Regions from separate parts of the Homo sapiens genome. Here region 2 is linked to region 1. Evidence: promoter capture Hi-C in 16 types of primary human blood cells and fetal thymus (Javierre and others, 2016). All regions are on one chromosome and are shown on one strand. The core of a region is centred on a gene start or on the middle of the fragment in contact, and the rest is flanking DNA. Distances in the headings are between cores, read along the strand shown. Region 1 holds the start of DNAH10OS (dynein axonemal heavy chain 10 opposite strand). Region 2 has its middle 110 kb from the start of SCARB1.

What was found. The method cuts DNA at HindIII sites, captures the fragments that hold promoters and counts their contacts. A CHiCAGO score of 5 or more calls a contact.
Region 2: a fragment that was not itself captured here is called in contact with the fragment with the promoter of DNAH10OS in region 1 in 1 of 17 cell types (naive B cells); the score reaches 6.0 in naive B cells.

What each region holds. Positions count from the first base shown.
Region 1 is chr12:123,933,648-123,940,588 of GRCh38, reverse strand. DNAH10OS (dynein axonemal heavy chain 10 opposite strand) reads left to right here and starts at 5,605. Exons shown (of 2, transcript NR_187476.1): 1 at 5,605-6,524. It overlaps DNAH10 (dynein axonemal heavy chain 10), which reads right to left. Exons shown (of 79, transcript NM_001372106.1): 78 at 5,823-5,968; 79 at 4,875-5,254. The coding sequence ends at 5,108. It overlaps CCDC92 (coiled-coil domain containing 92), which reads left to right. Exons shown (of 5, transcript NM_025140.3): 5 at 2,759-4,963. The coding sequence ends at 3,531. RefSeq lists enhancers at 1,539-2,039, 2,040-2,540. The HindIII fragment of the contact is 4,091 bases long and covers 1,624-5,714 here.
Region 2 is chr12:124,751,705-124,758,645 of GRCh38, reverse strand. No RefSeq gene overlaps it. Among named protein-coding and RNA genes, the nearest start is that of SCARB1, 110 kb to the left of the region's middle. RefSeq lists enhancers at 1-45, 46-547, 3,032-3,121, 2,491-3,393. The HindIII fragment of the contact is 7,631 bases long and covers 1-6,941 here.

The DNA.
Region 1 (6,941 bases), core at 4,356-6,855:
ATAAAGAGCAAGAAATTGGCAAAACAGGAGGTGCTGATTCCTGGGAAGGACAGTCACTGAAGCAGCTCTCCAGAGCTGGGGATGGAGGAGCAGTCGTACCAGCTCCTTCCCACAGGACGGCCCACTCAAGTCGGGGCCGGTAAACATCAGCCCGGAGCCAAGGCTGCACCCTGGAGGAGGAGGCAGCACAGCTAGATGACTCTCAAGGAAGGATGATGAGGAGGATGTCTATCCAGGAGGAGCTTCTCTCAGGATGCTGTGGCGAAAAGAACCAGAGTGATGCTTAATGAGCCCCAGATTTGGGCCTCTGCTCTGACTCGGAGGGGCTGTGTGGCCTTGGGCAGGTTCTTTGACATCTCTGAACCTGCATCTTCATCTGACAGGTGCCCCACAAATCCAAGTCCCCAGTCCGACCACCAGGGCCCTCTGCCTTTGTGGGCTGCCCCTCACAGGACATGAGCAAAGCCCAGGGACAGCCTTGTTCCTGAATGTTCCAAACGTCCATCAGCCTTTTGCAGCACTGCCTGGGGGAAGAAAAATCCCAGGATGCTCACAGCAGGCCAGGGATGTGGTTGAAGGTCTGAGGTTGCAGCCCTTCCTCGGAAGGAGCCCAAGGCCCACTGTCCACCCGAGTGTGGGCTGAAAGCAAAGGCCCTGCGACAGGCATGGGTTGTTGTCCCACAGGCCCTGGGGGAAGGACAGCGGGTACCAGGCCCAATGCCGTGCCCAGGTCAGCATTTCAGGTTGCAGGGGTTCAGCCCAGGTGGCTGGGCTCCTGGGTCTTACAGTGTCTACAGAGTCGTGTGTGTGTCTCTGTCCCTCTCTCTACCTCTGAAACTGTGTTTTAGGATCTATTTTCCTTTTGGCAAAAGAAGAAACCTCATGAAAGGTAGTACTGCATGCATCCTTTTTAGGGAGGTCATTTGCTGACATTATACCTGCACATACACACACAGACACATGGTTTTTAAAACTAGAAACTTGCAATGGTTCAACTTAAAATTTTTCAACTGCATGGGGCAATACCCATTCAGTACACTCCTCGACTTACCATGGATATGTCCAGATAAACCCATGGTAAGCTGAAAATATCGAAAACACACTTTTGACTTACGGTATTTTCAACTTACATTGGATTTTTCGGGACATGACCCCATGCTAAGTCGAGGAGCGCCCATCACCTGCAGCGAGCTTGTAACATGCAAGTGTCCTGCACAAGACCAGTCCAGTCAGCTGTGGGCCCTCAAAAGCTCAGAGTCTGGCGGCGGGACATGCTGCAGAGCTGCTGCTAGCTCAGGCAGGTGGGAAAATTCAAAGCAAGACAGACAGAAGCCCGGGAAAGACGTCCAGTGGCGTCCAGTGCCTAGGCAGGCCCTGGGTGGTGGAGTTGGTACAGGGAAACTGGGCGTGCAGGTCTGGAGTTAGGGCAAGGACAGAGGGTACAATAGAGACAGAACAAGAGGTGGTGGCTTGGGGAGAGTGATGGAAGCTTTGATTTATGTGGGAGCAGATAACATTCAGGACAGATTGAGGAACTGGAAGGCATCTGGCAGTTTGGGTTTTATTAGGCAGTGAGGAACCATTTTGAACAGAGGACAAGAATATTTAGGGGGTGACCAAGCTTCCTAAATACAGGATGGGCTGAAACGAAGACCAGAGAGGAGGTGGGACCAAGGCCGGCTGGAGGAGCAGGGAGGGGGCAGCACTGAGCAGCCAGCAGAAAGGCACAGTCAGGGAGGGGAGGCCAGGGATGGCGACTGCATCCAGTTTCCCTGGGAGAGTCAAGATGTGGGAAGCAGAGCAGCTATCTGGACTTGAGGGTGTGTCTGACGGACACTCACTTGGAGAAGTGGTGCTCAGGAGACACTGAATCGGGAGCTGATGCTCAAGTTGAATTCCAGACCAGCAAGGAAGAGTCTAGAAAGAACTTCCCAGGGGCCAGGCAAGGAGGATGGCCAGCCAGCCAGCGTTAGGAGGAGTAGGATGGTGACCCAGGGTTTAGAGCCAAGGGTGCTATGTGAGGTGACCAGGGACTGCAGGTCACCAGAAGAGCAGGAGAAGGAGGTGGCTGGTGTTTGCTGAAGGACTGGGTGAGGGCAGGCACCCAGGGACAGCAAAAGGAGGCAGAGGCCCGAAGTGTTAGGGCAGGGGCAGGGAGGGACCAAGGGTAAGAGCCACAGAGGCGAGACAGCTCACTCTCTGAGCAGGAAGTGGGAAAGAGTCTGTGTGTGTGTGTGTGTGAGAGAGACGGGGGTAGGGGGGTGAGAGAGGCGGCCAGCGGCAGAGCAAAGGTGACAGCCCCACACCTCTTCTCCTCTAAACATCAGAATTTTAATTCAATAGACATGGATAATTCTTTTTACATTTGAGTTTCAAAACAGTACTTTGAATGTAGCAGGCATTCCATAAATGCCATCTGAGCAGACAGAGGGATTTGCGGCCAGTTGAATCCTAAGTGTTTGCTGAGGTCTGATACTCTGCAATTGCCTGTTTTAAGTTCAGCATCTTTAAGGTTCAGAGACATTCTTTTATGCAGTAGGCCAGAGAACTAAGAGCCGGAAAGGGCCTCTGAGATGCCCCGATCTCCCCACCTCGGGGAGGGGAGGGGTCTTTCCAGAGCCCCCACAGCCCTGCCTTCTGCATGGCCCCCACAGCCTAGACAGGGCCCCCACCAGACAGGTCCGCCTGCCCCATAGGCCTCACCACTCGGCCTCAGTCTAATGAGTTCTTCACCTGCTTCCTCGGCTTATTCTTGTAGGAGACGGGACTTCTAAAAGCAGTGAATTAAAGAAAAGATGTGAAGAGCTGGAAGCCCAACTGAAAGTGAAAGAGAACGAAAATGCTGAGTTGTTGAAAGAACTGGAGCAGAAAAACGCGATGATCACAGTGCTGGAGAACACCATCAAGGAGCGAGAGAAGAAGTACCTGGAGGAGCTGAAGGCCAAGAGTCACAAGCTGACCCTGCTGTCTAGCGAGCTGGAGCAGCGGGCCAGCACCATCGCCTACCTGACCTCCCAGCTGCACGCCGCCAAGAAGAAGCTCATGAGCTCCAGCGGGACCTCAGATGCCAGCCCGTCAGGGAGCCCCGTGCTGGCCAGCTACAAGCCAGCGCCCCCCAAAGACAAGCTACCCGAAACGCCTCGCCGCCGCATGAAAAAGAGCCTCTCAGCCCCCTTGCACCCGGAATTTGAAGAGGTCTACAGATTCGGGGCAGAGAGCAGGAAACTCCTTTTGCGGGAACCAGTGGATGCTATGCCCGACCCCACCCCATTTCTGCTGGCTAGGGAGTCCGCCGAGGTCCACCTCATCAAAGAGAGGCCCCTCGTCATCCCCCCCATCGCCTCCGACCGAAGCGGCGAGCAGCACAGCCCGGCCCGCGAAAAGCCGCACAAGGCCCACGTCGGGGTGGCACATCGGATCCACCACGCCACCCCGCCGCAGGCCCAGCCCGAGGTGAAGACCCTGGCGGTCGACCAGGTGAACGGAGGCAAGGTGGTGAGGAAGCACTCAGGGACGGACAGAACTGTGTGAAGCCCGCCGTGCCCCACCCCGCGCTGTCCATGCACTGTGAGCACCACTGGGAAATCTCAGCCACACCTTTTCTGTTTAATCCCATGCATGCCAAACACTTTTCACACCTACCGACCCATTCTCCTTCTGCTTCTCTTGCCCTCTTCTTCACACCAAAATATGATCGTGTCCCTGCCGCAGAATATGTATTTCCTAATTGCTGTGGCCAAACGCCTGTGTGCCGAATCGCTTGCTTCTGATCCCGCTCCGTGTAACCTAAGTGCGCTGCAGGCAAAGCCCAGGCCACGGCTGCGTCACTACTGATGTTCACGATGCCACACAGTCACACACCTAATTCATTCTCAAGTCGGAGCAACACATACCAACCTTGACCTTATCCTCAAGCTCCAGGGCAGCCTGGCCGAGCAGCCCCTGCTCCCTCCTGGAGACCCTTGTCACCTCCCGAGCTCCTCCTGGAGACCCCTGTCACCTCCTGACCAACCTTTCCCAGGGCGGCACCGATCACCGAGCAGCCGTGCGTGTATCTCAAGGAACTAAATAAGATGACGCTACTCCTCATAGCACCACAACCTGAATGTGTGTTCATATTTTTTTGTTAGTTTTATCCAAAATGTTTAAGATCCCAACAAACTTTATTTTCTAAACCTGCCTTCCTTCTGTTTTGTGTCTTTTATTAAACAAACACCTGAAGGAGGGCTAGGAGACTGCAGGAGGGAGAGCAATCACAGGTCCCAGAAGCGACTCCGGCCTCCTCCCGGCCCAGAGCTAGTCCTTAGAATGTGCTGCGCTCCTGAGCTTCTGTGGGAAGCTGCTTTTGCCTCTGATGGCCCCTGCCCACTGTGCTGCCCGTGCTAGCCCCTCTCCTCCCTCATGGAGTGAAGCCACCCCTCACCTCCAGGTGGCCAGCCAGGGCTCCAGGCCAGCCTCATGGTGCACAGAGGGAAGGGGTGCCCAGTGACCACTGGTCCTGGAGGTTCTGTGTCCTTACCTGACCCCACACAGACCCAGGCAGGCTGGGGGTAGAAGCTCATGCAGGAACTAAACACTAAGCTCAACAACTTCACAGTCGCCGTAGCAGGTCAGAGCCAAAGAAGCTAGGGCCAGAGAGTTCTGGAAGGGGGAGAAGTGGCTCCAGGTGACTGGTCACTTCTGCTCTGTGCCCGACATCATCAGCCCTTCTTGCCAAAAAGGAGCATCTGCTGAAACAGACCTGGATCATCGAAAACACACCTTTGGAAATTACATTAGGATTCTCACTTGTGCCAATGCTATGTATGCCAGGCACTTTTGCCTAATCAAGTGTTTTCTCTGAGAAGGAAAAGAAAACTCCACACATCTTAAAATACTCTCCAATATTTACTTTTTGATTATATAAATTCCTTTTAAAAAGTAGTATTAAAAACAAAACCATTCAGGTTAATTTGTATGGAAAGAGATTTAAGTGGCTGATTTCAAATGAAAAATCAGTGTCAGTCCCCCTCCTGCCTCTTGAGAGGCCCCAAGAAATGACAGCAGACCCGATCACTCTGACAACCCCAGGCTCCGAATTCATTAAGCAGTTTTCTTCACCCAAAGGTTAATCAGAATTCAGGGTGAGGCATACTCCTTGCAGCACCCAGTGAGAAATGTGCCTCGTGGTAAAGAGATCAGCTTCAAAAACCAAGCCGACTCCCATGGCGTTCCTTCTCATGGAGGTGGTGTAGACGGGGGTCCGGAAAGTATTCTGCAAGGGAAAGGCAGGTGAGATGCCCCCACGGAGAGAGGGTGCAGAGGGATAAAGGCAGAGGTGCAGTGTAAGTCTTGACAGGCAGGGGCCCCTGTGCAAGACTGCACCTGAGAACACGCACAAGGCTGGGGCTGCTCAGGGCCACCCTCCGCCAGCTTCACGGGGACCTGGCTTCACACTGACACCCTGGTTAAAAGTGGGTCCTGGCCCAGGCAGAGCAGAAGACATCTGCTGTCCACACCAGCGGGAACCACTTTATGACTCAGGCAATGTCTGCAGCATTTTGCAAGAAGGGAGGGAGTCTCCCCTTGGTTAGTCTAGACCACAGGATCACAGCTTGAGCCTGACACCTCTGGAAGGACCGGCATCCACACACACATACAGCCGCGCCTTTTCCAGGAAGCAGCTATCCGTAGCTTTTATCACGGCTCCAAGACTCTCCCCAGCCCATAAAGCTTAGGCACCCCTGTTTTAAAAAGTAGGACTGTTGGAAACCACCTCAGCCATAACTACAGTCAGAAGAGGAAGGGCCCTGGTGTCAGAGAGGAGGGGCTGGGACCTTCACCTGCAGCTTGAGGCGATGGGCTTCAATGGGGATGATCTTCAGGATCGGCAGGTCCACAACCAGCACCTTGGGTTTGCTCTTGATAAGACATCCTTTTTCTATATCCCAGTCAGCACCTTCCAGGTACAGTCCTGAGACAAAGCATCCTAGGGACACAAGGCAGAGACTGGATACAACTGGAGCATGCACAGCCTGCCACGGAGTGGCTCTATCAGGCGCACACACAGCGACACACAGGCCACTGGCTGGCCTCCTCCCCAGCGCATTGGGGACAGCCCAGGCCCTTCTCCAGCATTTCTGTCCTGCCCACCTTCCCTCTGTGGAGGAGCAGCCCAGACAGGAGACCCTGTGGCCCTGCCCCATGGCCCAGAGAAATGGGTGTGGGGCGGTGGCCTCTCCCCCAGGAATCCTCATTCCTGGGGCATCAAGGCCCACGGACTTAGACCACCCTGGGCCCCCAGGCTAGAAAGATGCATGGTCCCAGAGTCAGAATGGGCACCATGGCAACCCCAGCTACCCTGTGAGCCGAAGTGGCTGGGGAGCAGGAAGTCGAAGCCTCACAGAGAAAGTGGTCTCCGGGGAGGAGGACCCAGCAGATGTGCAAAGAGAGGAACACACTCCTGTGGCCCCAGAGAGAGTGGTGGCCCGGACACCTGCCACCTCCCCTGCCACTGAGACCTGGAGAGTCCCTGCATCTTTACCGTAAGTCCCCAGTCCTTAAGCCATCTCAAAAGAGCTTTTGTTCCTTGCAGTTAAAAGAACTCTAAGACAACATGGACCCGGGGAAACAGCAGTTTCCAGCTCTCATTTGCACAGTCAGTAACCAATGTCTAAGGGACCTGAAGTTCTGGCATAATCAAAGAGTTCCAACCAAGTTAGTCCATGCTGCTCTGTGGCTCCCATGCCCCTGGCCCCGTCAGGGGTTACAAGAAAGCCACCTGATGGTTTTTGCAAGAGCTAATTCTGACCTAGGAGCCCACTTGCCATGAGCTAGCAGAGTGAACATGGTTCAGGTCTCCCCTGCCATAGACCCCAGGTCTCAACGGAGAAAGTGGAAGAGAAACTTCCGTATCCACCCTCAGAGGTGTTAAGACATGGGCAGTGCAGAGACACAGGAAA
Region 2 (6,941 bases), core at 2,099-4,598, 820 kb before region 1:
ATGGGGTTGGCAGGAGGATTTTGGCTGCCTTCGGCCAGGGCTGGGATCAGCAAATTTGTTTTCCACTGATGCGTTGAAGGTGGCCCCAGGGGCGTCATGGCTCCGGTTGGGCAGGGCATCTTCTGCAGCTGGCGGCCCCGCTGATTGGGTAGGGAGTGGGCTGACAGTTGGCAGAAGTCCTCCTTCCTGCCACTGCGTGAGTCCCTGGGGAGCCGGGCTAATGATGGAGTGGCGTACCCTTGGTCAACCTCCGTTTCTGCATCGCTGCCCAAGAGGGAGCCAGCTTTGGAAAGGGCAGCGGAGACAGCCGGTCGCCTGCTGGCGACTCCTGGTGACGGGGGCATCTGCACTGCAGTGTGGAGGAGGGACCTCGCCTCTCACTGCCCTGCTTAATTGCATGCTCGGCTGACATCTCTTCTGCACTGCTGCCTCAGTGATCTTTCTCAAGTGCAAATCTGCTCATGTAGCTCCCGGCTAAAATCCCCCAGGCCCTCAGAATAAGGTCCCAGCTCTGAAATGGGGGGCACAGGGCCCTGCATGATCCGGCTCCAGCACAAATTTCCCAAAGGCCTTGCAATTCTTCCAAGCAGCCAGGCTGTGACATCCACGCACTCCCCGCCACCCAGCCACGGCATTTATCCTTGTTTTTTCCACCCGGAACTTCTTCTGTTCCTGCCTGGATGCAACCCCCAATCTGTCTTCTCCCCCTTCTTCTTCGGGCCTCTATTTTGATCACTCCTCCTCCGGGAAGACTTCCTTGATCTCTCAAGCCTTGGCTGTGTGCTCTTGCCATAGGCTATGCCTGGGCTCTTCACTTAATCACGTGTAGTGAGCACTTGGGTCTTAATCTTTCTCTCTCTTCTGAGCTGTGGGCTTCACGAAGGCTTTGCTGAAGCTCTATCCCTGGTTACAGAGTGGGTGTTTCACAAGGTTGTGTTGGAACACCTGAATATGCGAGTAAACAGATGGGGCCTTTTATATGAGTTTGTATCAGTTATCTATTGACAAAATAATGCTGCATAACAAATCACCTCAAATATCAGTGACCTCAAACAATAATCATTTATTAGGCTCATGCATCTGCAGGTCAGTGATTGAGGCTGGGCTTGGCTGGGCGGTTCTTCTGTCTCGGCTGGGTGGTTCTTCTGTTTCAGCTGGGCTCGCTTGCATGTCTGGGGGTGGCTGGCTATTGGTTGCTCCAGGGTGGCCTTAGCTGGGATTGCTGGGAGAGCTCTGCTTTGCTCTGCACATCTCTCCTCCAGCTGGCTAGCCTGGGTAGGATCTGAGATGATGGCAGAGGTGGAAGAGTACAAGCAGTTGCTCCAGGCTTTTCAAGGCCCACCTTGGCACTAGCACATTGTTACTTTTATCAGCTGACACCAGTCACAAGGCCATTTCAGATTCAAGGGGTGGGGGAGTAACTTTACCTCTTTGGTGAGAGGAATTGCAAAGCCACACAGCAAAGGGCATGCATACAGGGTGAGGTATAAACTTGGGGCCATCAACACAATCTATCAGGGAGGTTAAGTCAAGTCCTTACAACAGTGCAGTGGGTGTCCAAAAGGTGCCGTCCAAGCATGGCAACTCTTCTGATGGTGACAACAATGATGGTGTTCCGCTTTTTAAAATTGTGGCAAAATACATCTAACATAACATTTACCATCTTAACCATTTTCGAGTGTACAGTTCAGGGGCATTGAGTACATTCACACTGTTGTGCAACAGATCTCCAGAACTTTTTCATCTTGCAGAACTGAAACTCTGTCCCCATTAAACAAGCACTCCCATTTCTCTCTCCCTAGCCCCTGGCAATTGCCATTCTACTTTCTGTCTCTATGAATTTGATGACTCTAGCTACCTCCTCTAAGTGGAATCAAACAGTATTTGTCCTTTTGTGACTGGCTTATTTCACTTAGCATAATGTCCTCAAGGTTCATCCATTGGGTTAGCACATGACAGGGTTTTCTTCCTTTTCCTGGCTGGATAATATTCCATTGTATGGATGGACCACAGTTTGTTTATCCATCCATCTGTCCGTCCGTCCGTCCATCCATCCATCCATCTATCCATCCATCCACAAACCCTTATGTTGCCTCCACCTTTGAGCTCTTGTGAATCAACACATCAGGCTGCTATAAACTTCAGTGTGCATATATTTCTTTGAGATTCTCTTTTCTGTTCTTTCGGATATAAACCGAGAAGTGGAAGCTGAGCATGGTGACTCAGCCTGTAACCCCAGTACTTTGGGAGACAGATGTAGAAGGACTGCTTGAGCCCAGCAGTTTGAGACCAGTCTGGGCAACATCTCGAGACCTTGTCTCCAATAAAAATTTAAAAACTAGCTGGGCGTGGTGGCACATGCCTGTGGTCCCAGCTACTTGGGAGGCAGAAGTGGGAGAATCACTTGAACCCAGGAGGTCGAGGCTGCAGTGAGCCATGATCACGCTGTTGCACTCCAGCCTGGGTGACAGAGTGTGATCCTGTCTCAAATAAATAAATAAATAAATAAAACCCAGAAGTGGGTTTGCTGGATCTTAGATGGTGTGGCTTTTCGGCTTGCAGGAAAGGCCTGTGGAACACAAATGCCGATCCATGGGTTAACAGAGCAGCTGTTTACGGGGCAGATCTGAGGTCAGGTTGCCTGGTTTGGACCCCAGATCCTCTGCTTCCTGATTATGCTTCCTCCGTGAAGCCACCCACTCTGAGCCTCAGTTTCCTCCTCTGTGCAATGGGCGTGATACTAAGACCTATCCGTAGAGTGTGAGGACTAAACGGGTAAGGTGCTTACAACAGTGCCTGATGCATAGCCAGCTCTCAACACACAATACCCACATGTTGTTTTCCGGTGATCAGTGCCTTTGACACCGCCTTAGCCCCCCTGGAATGAAAGCACTGTAGTTGATGGCCGGCTGGCAGCAGTGTTCTTCTTCACTGTGGGAATACACCCAGAGTTTATCTCCTCCGGGCAAACCACAGGGACGACTGGGTTCATATTTGGTTACAGGTGCTGACACCACATCCCCTCTGCTGGGGTGTCTGGCCGGGGCCTTCGAGGGGTTGGAGCTGGTGCTAAGTTGGCGTTTAGCAGGGTGGGAGGGATGCTCCTTCTGCCGCTGTTCAGCTCTCTCTTTCCTAGGCCTGCTCTTCCCCCTCCACCCCTCCGCACAGATTGCAATTTCGGCCGCGGCAGGAAGAGAGGAATGAGCTTGCATAATAGAGGAACATTTGGTTCTTTCAGGCTGGGCCTGGAGAGGGGGAAGGCTTTTGTGCTGAAGTGTGCACCACGGGGGCAGACTCGAGAGGTTTCCTGTGTGCTGGGGCTGGGAGGAGCTTTGTGCATGGGAGGGATGGCCGCACTGAGGTCCAGATGGACGTGGGGGTGGGGACCGCTCCCCCAGGGAAGGGCAGATGGGGAGGGTGACTTTGCTGCTTCTCAGAGATGGGAAGCAGGGCAAGAGGAAAACCGCATAGGGCAGGGATGGGAGGCCCAGGCAGGGCTGGGCCTCGGGCGCCCTGGGCCATGCACATGGCCCCAGCAGACTGTTCTCTCCCCAGGGCCTTTTGGGCCACTTCCTGCACACCCCAGAGAGGTCTGTGGCCTCAGCATGGAGTTAAACCTGTGCCTTCCTGATCCAAGGGGATGGTTTTGAGCTGTGAGGGGGCCTCTCCAGGACCACTGAGTCAGAGGAGAGAGAGATGGGTGTGCAAACACGGCCAGTGCCAGCAGGTCTCTCCCCAGATGTGACAACCCTCACCCGAACCGGACCCCTGGCACTGCTGATCATCAGGGTCAGAGATGGGACATTCATTCCCACTGGATATTTAAAAGCCAGAGCAGGGGTCTGCACCGTGAGTCTTTGAGGGGCTTCCATAACTTCCAATGCCATGTCTGGGTCTCTGACCTGGCTCAATCCTCACAGCAGAGGGAGGCCAGGGGCAGCTAGCCAGGCTTTCCACAAGGATTTGCTGTGCATTGACTCTGTCCTGGGCCCCGTTCTAGATGCTGGGATACAGCCGTGAACAAAGCAGACAGAGATCCAGGTGCTCCGAGGTTTATTCTAGTGGAGAAGGAGGTGGACACGGATCAAGTCAACATCAAGGCACAGACAATGGCATTGTGGGGGTACACAGCCAGCCTCAATTCCTCACCACCCCCCACATCTGTGCCCTTTACCGGGTGGCAAAGAAGTAGAGTGCATTTCCCCACCTCTTGACTTTAGGTCTGGCCATGTGACTTGCTTTGGCCATAAGAAGGCAATGGAAATGAGGCTGTGCTAGTATTGGCCCTATCCCTTCAGGGACCTTGTATTATGCTGTGCCTCTGTCACTGGGTGAGACAAACAGGCCCTGGGTTAACTTGCTGATCCAAAGAGGAAGAGAGACAGGTGGGCAGCCCAGCCCAGCCTGGATCAGGTGACTCCCAGCCAACTGGCAGACACGGAAATGATAATGAGTGATTGCAGGTGGGAATCTTTTGTTACGCAGCATGTCGGCAGCAATAGCTAACTGATATAATCAGCTACTGCTAAGTGCTGTTATTAATGCCTTTTTATAGGCAAGAAAACTGAGACCTGCAGAGGTGAAGAAGCTGTCTTGAAGTTAGAGATGGCTGCGCCCAGACAAGAAGCCAGCTGTGCTAACTCCAGGTGGATTGTTCATTCATCCAGCCCATTTTTACCAAGCACCTACCATGTGCCTGTAATTGTGCTAGAAACTGAGGTAATTCAACGGAAAAGTTCCTTCTGTGAGCAACCTGTTAGAAGAGAGAACTCCTTTTTTCCTAGAGTTTCAGCAGAAGTCTGAGGTTTGGGTCCCATCAGCCTGGTGTGGGTCACCTGCCTGCTCTGAGCTAGTCATGGCTGCAAAAGAATGTGAAGCTCTGATTGACCAGGGTAGGTCACGTGTTCATGCTCCTCCCTGTAACTGGGAGAAGGGATGACCCCATCGGAACCAGACAGACTGAGAGCGGAGGAGAGATGGTTTTCCCAGAGAAAAAGGGGTGCTATTAAACCCCAAGAAGGGGAAATAGGTGCTGGGCCGATAAAAAAGAACAATGTATACTCCAGAGCTCCGGGGCCCTAATAAAGACCCCTGCAGCTCTCTGCTCCTTAGTGAATCCCCCCAAGGTCCAGGGCTGCTCCAACCCCCAAGGTCCAGGGCTGTGCCAACCTCCCCTGCCTCCGACACTCCTCGTGGGCGCTCTGCCTGGCTCTCGGAAGATCAGATGTGATTTATTCCTGGCATCTGTGCCGCCGCTTGCCGTGAGGTGCTTTGCAGCAGAACAATAAGTTACAGGGCCATTTATCTTGTTGGCGGCTTCGGATAAAATGAGCAGTCTGTGCAGACAGGGCCTTTAACGAACATGATCAGGGCTGTTCATTTAGAAACCAGGAGGCCTTGACATTGGCTTTAATTGAAGTGGTTAGCAGTAAGGGGCTTGGCTGGGTTTGTTCAGAATGGAGGGTTGCAGCAAAGGGCAGACCTGTCTTTGAGTCTTGTCTGTGCCTCTACTCTGTGTTTGACTTTGGGTAACCTTGGTGATCTCTTCCACACTTTGTTTCCTCACCTGTGAAACGGAGATGTATCAGTCAGTATCGGCTCAGTTGTGTTGCAGTAACAAACAACTCCAAAATCTCATGGTTTTCTAACAACCAACGTTTGTCTCTCACCCGTGCTATGTGTCTGCTGTGTGTTGGCAATGGGCTCTGTGCCATGTCTTCTCACTCTGGGATGCAGAGGGGGCCTCTGCCATGTGGAGCATCATCGGGCTTGAGGCAGGCTGTGCACTGCTTCTTAGAGCTTCTTCTTAGATGCAACTTACATCACTTCTGCTGACATCTCATTGGCCCAGGCAAGCCACACGGCCATGCCTGACTTCTGGTGGGGGACGGGCATAGAGATGAGAAATCCTGCCTGTGACTGTTAGCAGGAAAGCTGGAGAATTATTATTTATTAGAGAGAGCAGTTCTGCTGAGCCATCGTAGAGTCAGGGTTTTTTTTTTTTTTTCCTTGTCCCTCCTGGGGCTGCTAATCATCTGAGCCGAATCCATTCTGTTTTTCGCTGCCAGATTAATCATTTTCCTTGTGCCTCTGCCACATCACTCCATCTGCTGTGAACTTGAGTGCCTGCTGCAGGGCATTGAAGCTGGTCAGCCTGGCACTCAAAGAACCCCTGGGCTGGCACCTCTCAAGATAGTCAAAGCTGAGTCAGAGAGGGCAGAGACTAGGTATTTCTCACTCCCCACTTCGTCTCCAGCTTCCAGAACTGGCATACAGTAGGTGCTCAGTAATTATTTGGTGCCTGGCATACAGTAGGTGCTCAGTAATTATTTGGTGCCTGGCATACAGTAGGTGCTCGGTAATTATTTGTGGCAACTATGAAATGACTTGCCCAAGCCCACATGCCAGGTTGTAAGCCAGACAGGGCTCACGGCAAAGTGCTCACTATTGACAAGGCTCAGTGCAGCCGCCCCGCGGCCACGGTGTTTTCTGGCAGTCGGCGCTCGCTGTGCCCCAGGCCTCAGGAGCCGGCTGTCTTGTATGCATCAGTCCCTGGGGGTCCTTCAAACCACCCCCCAAGGAAGGCACTGTGGTAAGCAGGTTCTTTACTGAGATAGTCATCTGTGTTTATTCACCCTGTGATTTCCCTCCCTCAATTCCAAGGCAACATCCAGCCCTTTCCTCGATATTTGTTTTTCTGGGCAGAGATGAGAAGCCTCTGGAAGATAGTCCATCTATACTGGCCTTTTGTGAAAACTCGATGTATTAGTCAGGGTATAGATTCAGCTGCTGTAACAAAGAAACTCCAGGCTGGGCACGGTGGCTCATGTCTGTAATCTCAGTGCTTTGGGAGGTTGAGGTAGGAGGATCACTAGAGGCCAGGAGTTTGAAACCAGCCTGGGCAACATAGTGAGACCCTGTCTCTACAAAAAATACAAAAA